Regions from separate parts of the Homo sapiens genome. Here region 1 is linked to region 2. Evidence: promoter capture Hi-C in 16 types of primary human blood cells and fetal thymus (Javierre and others, 2016). All regions are on one chromosome and are shown on one strand. Each heading gives the region's core, a stretch centred on a gene start or on the middle of the fragment in contact. The rest is flanking DNA. Distances are from core to core; before and after follow the strand shown. Region 1 overlaps MAPK1 (mitogen-activated protein kinase 1). Region 2 holds the start of PPM1F (protein phosphatase, Mg2+/Mn2+ dependent 1F).

Region 1 (4,353 bases), core at 654-3,153, 98 kb before region 2:
CAAAACACATAACAGTCATTAATTACCACACATAAAGGTGCTTAATGGATAATAAGTGCTCAAGGAAATGGCAGTCATGGTGGTGGTTGCAGAGAACAACTGGAGGGGATTAAGAGTGGTGGTAGAAACCAAGCAGAAACCAGTCTAAGAAAACCAAAAAAATACCAGGCAAATAGTTTCAAAGGAAAATTATACCATTTTAAGATAAGGTAGACTGGTGGCTGGCGCCTGTAATCCCAGCACTTTGGGAGGCCGAGGTGGGTAGATCACCTGAGGTCAGGAGTTTGAGACCAGTCTGGCCAACATAGTGAAACCCCATCTCTACTAAAAATATAAAAATTAGTTACACGTGGTGGTGTGCACCTGTAGTCCCAACTTCTTGGGAGGCTGAGGCAGGAGAATCACTTGAACCTGGGAGGAAGAGGTTGCAGTCAGCCGAGATCATGCCACTGCATTCCAGCCTGGGTGACAGAGCAAGACTCTGTGTCAAAAAAAAAAAAAAAAAGACAAAGTAGTCTTAATGCTATTTCAGAACACAGAAAAGGAAAGAAAACTTCCACACTCATTTTATGAAGCAAGTGTAATGGTAACCCCAACCTGACAAAGACTGCACAAAAGATACTACAGTTGAATACTACTTACGAATATCAACACAAAATCTCTGAATATTAGCAAACAGAATCCAATGGCACATTATAAAAAGGAATACAAATAAACAAGCACAGTTTATTCCAGGTATGAGAGATTCCATATAAGGAAATCTATTGACATGATCTTCACATTAACAATGTTAAATGTGATGAAATCATATCATCTTCACGGAGGCAGTAAAGACATCTGACAGCTGGGTGCGGTGGCTCATGCCTGTAATCCCAGCACTTTGGGAGGCCAAGGCGGGTGGATTGCCTGAGCTCAGGAGTTCACGACCAGCATGGGCAACAGGGTGAAACCCTGTCTCTACTAAAATACAAAAAATTACCTGGGGGTGGCAATACGCGCTTGTAGTCCCAGCTACTTGGGAGGCTGAGGCAGGAGAATTGCTTGAAACCAGGAGGTGGAGGTTGCAGTGAGCTGAGATGGCACCACTGCACTCCAGCCTGAGAGACAGAGCAAGACTCCATCTCAAAAAACAAACAAACAAAAAGAAACAAAAAACTAAAATAGGAAATGATGGATACTGCCTTAAGTAAACAAAATACACCTCGGTCCAAAGCCAGCATCTGACTTCATGTGAAAACATTAGAGACTTCCCTGCTAACATCACACACCACATAAGGCTAAAATATTTTCCAATTTACATTTTTAGAGGTAAGCATTAAATTCTATGATGCCAGACAAACATTTACCAGATTTTTTTTTTTGAGATAGAGTTTCACTCTTGTTGCTCAGGCTGGAGTGTAATGGCGCACAATCTCGGCTCGCCACAAGCTCCGCCTCCCAGGTTCAAGCGACTCTCCTGCCTCGGCCTCCCGAGTAGCTGGGATTACAGGCATGTGCCACCACACCCAGCTAATTTTGTATTTTTTGTAGAGACGGGGTTTCTCCATGTTGGTCAGGCTGGTCTCGAACTCCTGACCTCAGGTGATCCGCCTGCCTCGGCCTCCCAAAGTGCTGGGATTACAGGTGTGAGCCACCGCGTCTGGCCAAAATTTACCAGTTCTTGAATGCTGAATCCTGCTGGGATAACTGGAAACACTCCTAATGTTACTATAAACTCTCACACTGCCTTGTTGGCAATAATTAAATAGCTCTTTCTAGCAGTTGTGTTCAAGTGGACAGATAATCACAAATGTCTTTTCTTTCTAGCTCCCTTTGGACGAAAGAAAGAAAGAATTTACAACACGTCTAAAGATTGTCACTTTTATCATCCCTTTGAATGATAAGTGATCAGGGCTGTCCCAAAAGAATGCCTGAAAACATTACAAAATGTTATCATAAGCAGAATGGCTCACTAAGGGGATGAACATTCTGGCAAGTCTTAATCTAGCATCACTACCAACTGTTTTTTCACTGGTCTAAAACATAACATCTAATATTTTTATTTGCCTATATAGCCCTGCAGTAATAATTAACTTGTGAAAGGTCTACACTGATTTTTTTCTTTATAAAGTATTTGCTTCAACCATGGAACAGAAACAAAGTTGATTTAATGGGAAAAATGTAAATTTATTTGAGGATAGGTTCAGCACTGCTAAATTGAAAAGGGAAAGAAAATTTCAAACAAACCCCAAAAAGAAACATTTTCACATCTGTAGTGAAAAAGCTAAATAGCAGTACACTAAACTTGGTTACTGACAAAATAAATCCTTGTGGCCAAGGTGAGGCAAAGATATTACTCTCTACTTTGCTAGCCTACCTTGTGTTCAGTGAATTCAAACATTAATTGGGGCAATGTATTGTTTTTGCTTCATTTTCTTTAGCTGTGCAGTAAAGTCTTTGCTTTCATAGAAAGATTGTGCCAAGTTCTTTCTTTTTCAGAATTGCTTTTAAATCAGTTCTATTTAAGTATTTCTCTCTCTCTCAAACTTGACATTTTTCATTACACCTTTTTTTTCCAATGCCAAAATAGCAGCATTAACATTCATTCCAGTCACTAGGTAAAAACTCTCTTCAGTCAAACACACATGAATAATCTAATTCGTGAGGTAAACGACTACTGTCATACAGTATTACGAAGTTCCAACCTTACTTGCAGAGCAAAAAATAAAAAATAAAAATAGTCATTTTCCTCAAGGGTTTAATTGTGGGCTTTTAATGTTGAAGTAAATCAATTTACTAGTTTTTAACCTCAAGTTTTTCCCTATTTCATTATATCTCAATAATGATTATCCAGAGATTTCTGAGGTAAATTACATTAAAGACAGCGCTAGTAACTGGGAAACAATCCACACATGAATCTTAATATATTGCATATATGCTAATTTCATGTAATGTTCCTGAGGGCGGTGACAATATTAGAGCTGTACGAGACCCTAGAGACCATCCCAATCCCTTAACTCCACAGATGAGAAACACAAAAACTTGCAGAAGCAGAGTGACGAGCACATGCCCATGTGACATGTCATCAGAAGCAGGGACCAAGACTCAGGTCTCTTGCCTTCCAGGCCAGTCCTCTTTTGGTAGGCTAAAAGCTGCCTTTCACAGCTTCCCACAAATTTCAACACATCCTCACTCAAGTACGTTTCTGAAAGGGACTCACCGACAACTCTTTAGAGAAAAGGAACTATATCTCAAACCATAGGAAAAGTTCTATATCTAGCTTATCAAACTTTTAGTCTCTGAAGCATGTGAGAGTAAGTTTGCCAGTATTTCTTTCTCATTATCCCCCAATACTTTAGTGACTATTTCCAACAAACAAAACTAGACTATTCTCCCATACAAACAAAATGCTACCATCAAAATCGTCAACGCTCACCTGTCAGATTATGACCAAAGGCCTCTAAGTCAGAATCCCGCCCAGGCAAAATGACATGGCAGCCAACTGTGGAGCCTCGGTTGGCCTCGGATAGCTGGTCCCCCCTTCATTCACACCACATATCTGAGGACCAGATATGGAAAGCCTCTCATGCTGGAAAACTTGGCACAGTAGAAAGGCGGCCACACTTTTGCCCGTCACACAATGCACATTCACGGGGGACCTGTGCTAAACCATTCACAGACAACCTGTTTCTGGGTCAGGGTTTCGTATACAGCAGAGCAGTCAGCTATCGACACAAGGGTTTGTAACAAAAAACAAAAAACAACAAAAAAAAGGAAGGACAAACCAAAACAAAAAAGAAAATACCAAAAAAAAGAAGAGTTAAAAAAAAAAGAAGATAAAAATAAAATCATTAACACAGATACACGACTACAATCTAATTTTCAGACATTCTAGTTTTGCCAATCATGCCGATTCAGAATCATGAACCACATGGAGTTGCCATGTTTCTGCACACTTCTTTAGTGTGGAACAATTCCTCAGTGTTTTCTTGGTTCCATGATCTTGACTTAATTTTGAGGTTTACAGGCCAGTTATTTTGCAGAATATCCCTAAACTCGGGTTACCTTGATGTTGCCTCCTGAAGATTTGGATTATGCATGAAACACTTGACTGTCCCTATTCTAACTATATAAAGATGCTCCTTGACTTACTATGGACTTACATCCCAATAAACCCTTCATAAATGGAAAACCTCATAAGGTGAAATGCTTGTTTTTTTTGGGAAAGTTTCTTGCTCTGTTGCCAGGCGGGAATGCGGTGACACGACGACGGCTCACTGTAGCCTTGACCACTCAGGTTCAAGCGATCCTCAGCCCCAGGCTCCCAAGTAGCTGGGACTATAGGCACGTACCACCACACCTGGCTAATTTTTT
Region 2 (4,333 bases), core at 1,254-3,753:
TCATGTCTCTATGGCACTTTTGCTCACATCTGACTTGTAAAAAGTTTTTTTTTTTTTAATTTAAAATATTTATTTTCCTCTAGTGCATTAGTTTTGACTCCTAAGCTTAACGAATGCAGGGTTTAACAACTGCAGTTTTTTAGGGGACATAGAAAAAATACTTGTTGAGTCTTGCTTAACTGCAGAACCAAGGTAATGAAAAAAACCCAGCAATCCTTAGAAAAGGGAACTGCACCACTATAGTGTAACAAAAGCATCATTCATGTTAACTGTTTTTTTTTGTTTTTGTTTTTTTTGAGACAGAGTCTTGCTCTGTCACCCAGGCCGGAGTGCAGTGGCGCAATCTTGGCTCACGGCAACCTCCGCCTCTCAGGTTCAAGTGATTCTCCTGCCTAAGCCTCCCTAGTAGCTGGGATTACAGGCACCCACAACCACGCCTGGCTAATTTTTTTGTATTTTTAGTAGAGATGGGGTTTCACCATGTTGGCCAGGCTGGTCTCGAACTCCTGACCTCAGGTGATCTGCCCGCCTCAGCCTCCCAAAGTGCTGTGATTACAGGTATGAGACACCACGCCTGGCCAACCTTTTTCTACCAAAAGAGATTCTTATTTCTTTATTCATAACTACTAATACTAATAATAGTTAGATGTAAATCCTAGATTTTTTTTCTACATATATAAATTTTTTTTATTGTTGTAAAATATACACACTATGTATCCTTTTAACCATTTCTAAGCGTACAGTTCCATGGCATTAAGCATAGTCACATTGCTGTGCAATGACCATTTCTTTCTACAGGCCTGACTTTCTTGATAGACTGTAAGCTCCCTGTAGTCAGGGAGCCCACGATGGCCCTTTGTGTACAGCAGGTGGTAAGTGTGATGGCAGAGGGAAGAGTGACTGGCGGGTGGCATGGGCTGAGGAAGCTACACCACTCTGAAGGGTGCAGTGGGCAGCAGCGCCAGGTCTTAAAAGACTCGGTTGGCTTCAGGTCAGATGGTATCCTTTTTTTTTTTTTTTTTTTTTTTGAGAGGGAGTTTCGCTCTTGTTGCCCAGGCTGGAGTGCAATGGTGGGATCTCAGCTCACTGCAACCTTCGCCTCCCAGGTTCAAGCAATTCTCCTGCCTCAGCCTCCTGAGTAGCTAGGATTACAGGCACCTGCCACCACGCGCGGCTAATTTTTGTATTTTTAGTAGAGATGGGATTTTGCCATGCTGGTCTGGAACTCTTGACCTCAGGTGATATGCCTGCCTCGGCCTCCCAAAGTGCTGGGATTACAGGTATGAGCCACCGCGCCCGGCCTTCAGGGGGTATCTTAAAGGAATTCCACAAATGAACTTGTGTAGAGGTTCATGGCTTTCAGAAATGCATTCGTTTTGTTTACCTCTCACAACTACGCTGAGAAGTACATACTGTCAGGCTACACTGCAGATGAAGAAATAGGTTATAGGAGGGCAAGCACCCATTTAAGGTCTCACACAGGTGAAAGGGCAAAGCGAACTCAATCAAGGTCTCTGGATGCCCAATGCCTTTGGTATTTCCACCTCGCGTGCAGGAGGAAAAGAGCGAAATTTGACAACAGAAGAGACTGGAGATGGCCTCAGAGTGCTGGCCGGCCCCACTTTCTATCCCCCGTGGTGAGAGCTCAGCTGGGCCCAGAGAACTTGTCCCGGGGAATGCCACCACGACATGTGTGACTCTGTCCCGCAGGGTGGAAGGCTTCGAAGGAGCCCGCCACCATGCAGTGGGCCTCACTGTGTGTCAAGCGCTGTGCCGAAATCCCTGCAGCCGGAGCCAGTTCTTCCTGTTGTACAGACAGGTTCAGGGGCTTGCCTGACCGAACCCAGCGGCAATGTGCCCGGCCTCCGCGCCTGAGGCTCTGGCTCACAGACCTGTGGCTGAAGCAGCTGCAGCCCGAGCACTTGTGCAGCTGACGCTCGCTTCACGGACGCTTGGGAGGCCGCGGAGCCGGGGGCCATCAGGCAGACTGGGCCCCTGAAGGTGCAGGGACTGGGGGGATATGGGGCAACGTGCCGGCCCAGAGGCTCCTGGGGGGTGGGGAGAGGCCAAATCTCGGAAAATGGGGCGCGTCCCCCTCAGCACCCGATTCTGCCTCATAGCCCTCGGTCCCTACCAGGCCCTCGGCTCGGCCACACCCCCGCCTGCCCCCCAGTTCTGCCCCCTTGGCTCCCCAGCCCCCCAACTCCCAGCCTCGGGTTCCTCATGTCCGCAGCGGCCCCTCTTGCTCCTCGGCCCCCCGCACTGCACCCCCGCACCCTTTCGGTGCACCCATGTGAGCCTCGTCTCGGCCTCCTTGCCTCCCCAGCCCTCTGATTCCACCCCTCCGGTTCCTCGGTCCCATTTCACCCCTGTGCGCCTTGGGCGCTCGCCTGACCCTCGTCCCAGCCCCGTCAGCCCTCTAATCCCGTCCCCCCCGGCCTCCTCACCCCTGGTCTCCGCGGGCCTCAGCTGTCTCCTCGCGGCTCCGTGTCCCGCAAGCTGCTGCCGGCCGGCCCCGCCCACTTCCCGTCCCTGGCCGCCGCGGGCGCCGCGGGCGCCGCGCAGGCGCAGTCGGGCCTCCAGGCTGGCGGGGCCGGACCTCTGCTGCCCCCTGGCGGCTACGTGGACGGTGACTGCGGCCCTTTAGTGGTAGGCGAACTGCGGCTCCACCTGGGCTCCGGAGCCGCCCCAGTCACCAGCCTCTTGCTTCTCTTCTGCAGCTTTGGGTGGGCGGCTGGATGGGGAAAGCAATCCCTAGGTCACAGCGCCCAGAAATTAAGCAACTTCTGCCGTCAATAGCTGGTAAGTGACAGAGCAGGGATGCAAACCCAGACTGCCCAGGCAGGCTCATCCGTCCGGGAAGGAGGCACAGTCCCAGGCTCATTATGAGTTGTTTGTTTCCACAAACGTTGAGGCTTTTGTTATCTTTCCGTTCTGGAGGTCAGAAGTCCACTTAGCCTCAGTGGGCGAAGATCCAGGGATCGCCAGAATGCGTTCCTTTCTGAGGATTCTAGGGGAGAAACTGTTCCCCTGCCTTTTCCAGCTCCTAAGGGCTCCCTGCATACCTTGGCTCGTGGCCCCTTCCTACAGCCTCGAAGCCAGCAATGGCCAGTTGAGCCTTTCTCACACTGCCACCTCTGGTTCCCTCCTCTGCTTCCTTCTGCTACTTCTAAAGACCCTCCTGATGCCATTGGGCCCACCCAGATAGTCCAGCATCATCTCTCTAAATCAGTTGATTAGCAACCTTAATTCCCCTTTGCCCCTTATTATTATTATTATTTTTTTTTGACACGGAGTCTCACCCTGTCACCCAGGCTGTACTGCAGTGGCATGACCTCGACTCACTGCAACCTCTGCCTCCCTGGTTCAAGCGATTTTCCTGCCTCAGCCTCCCGAGTAGCTGGGACTGCAGGCACGCACCACCATGCCCGGCTAATTTTTTTTGTATTTTTAGTAGAGATGGGGTTTCACCATGTTGGTCAGGCTGGTCTCAAACTCCTGACCTCAAATGATCTGCCTGCCTCGGCCTCCCAAAGTGCTGGGATTACAGTACAGGCGTGAGCCACTATGCCGGGTCTGCCATGTAATCTAACACAGGCACAGGTATAGGACATGAACATCTCTGAAGGGCCATTTTTCTGCCAACACAGAGGCTCTTGAAAATATTCTTTTTCTCTCTTTTTAGAGACAAGCTCCTTCTCTGGTGCCCACACTGGAGTGCAGTGGCATGATCACAGCTCACTGCAGCCTCAAACTCCTGGGCTCAAGTGACCCTCCCCTCCTGCCTCAGCCTTCCTAGTGTCTGGGAACACAGGCAAGCACCACCACGCCCAGCTGATTAAAAAAAATTTGTAGAGACAGGGTCTCTATGTTGCCCAGGCTGGTCTTGAACTCTTGGGCTCAAGTGATCCTCCTGCCTCAGCCTTCCCAAGTGCTGGGATTATAGGTGTGAACCATTACACCTGGCCAAAATATTTTATTTTAAAGGCAGAAGAAAGAAACCTTTATGTCAAAGAAAATGTTTTAATATATGATATTAATATATTCACCTTTATACCAATGCCGTTGGAAAGTATAATTTTTTAAATGGAGGATGGGGCACCAGATCTTATGTGGCTCTGCCCACCTGACCTTCAGGTCCGCAGGCCTGTGTCCTTGCCAGGAATGAATGTCTCTGGGATGCTTCTCTAACAGGAGGAACCTGGAGTGAGACCAGGAACCTGGAGAACTAGCAGCTGGGTGACTGGAAAGGAAACCATCTGGGGTGGGGTTGGGTCTGCAAGGCAGGAGGTGTCTGGGCAGAGAAAGCAGGGCTGGGGCGGAGGGTCCTGCC

Evidence for each region. The method cuts DNA at HindIII sites, captures the fragments that hold promoters and counts their contacts. A CHiCAGO score of 5 or more calls a contact.
Region 1: a fragment that was not itself captured here is called in contact with the fragment with the promoter of PPM1F in region 2 in 1 of 17 cell types (neutrophils); the score reaches 6.2 in neutrophils.

The regions. Positions count from the first base shown.
Region 1 is chr22:21,852,844-21,857,196 of GRCh38, forward strand. All of the region lies in intron 1 of MAPK1 (mitogen-activated protein kinase 1), which reads right to left. Among named protein-coding and RNA genes, the nearest start is that of MAPK1, 13 kb to the right of the region's middle. RefSeq lists an enhancer at 2,999-3,500. The HindIII fragment of the contact is 7,079 bases long and covers 1-4,353 here.
Region 2 is chr22:21,950,345-21,954,677 of GRCh38, forward strand. It overlaps PPM1F (protein phosphatase, Mg2+/Mn2+ dependent 1F), which reads right to left and starts at 2,504. Exons shown (of 8, transcript NM_014634.4): 1 at 2,448-2,504. RefSeq lists enhancers at 1,657-1,726, 1,773-2,293 and a silencer at 2,287-2,696. The HindIII fragment of the contact is 22,373 bases long and covers 104-4,333 here.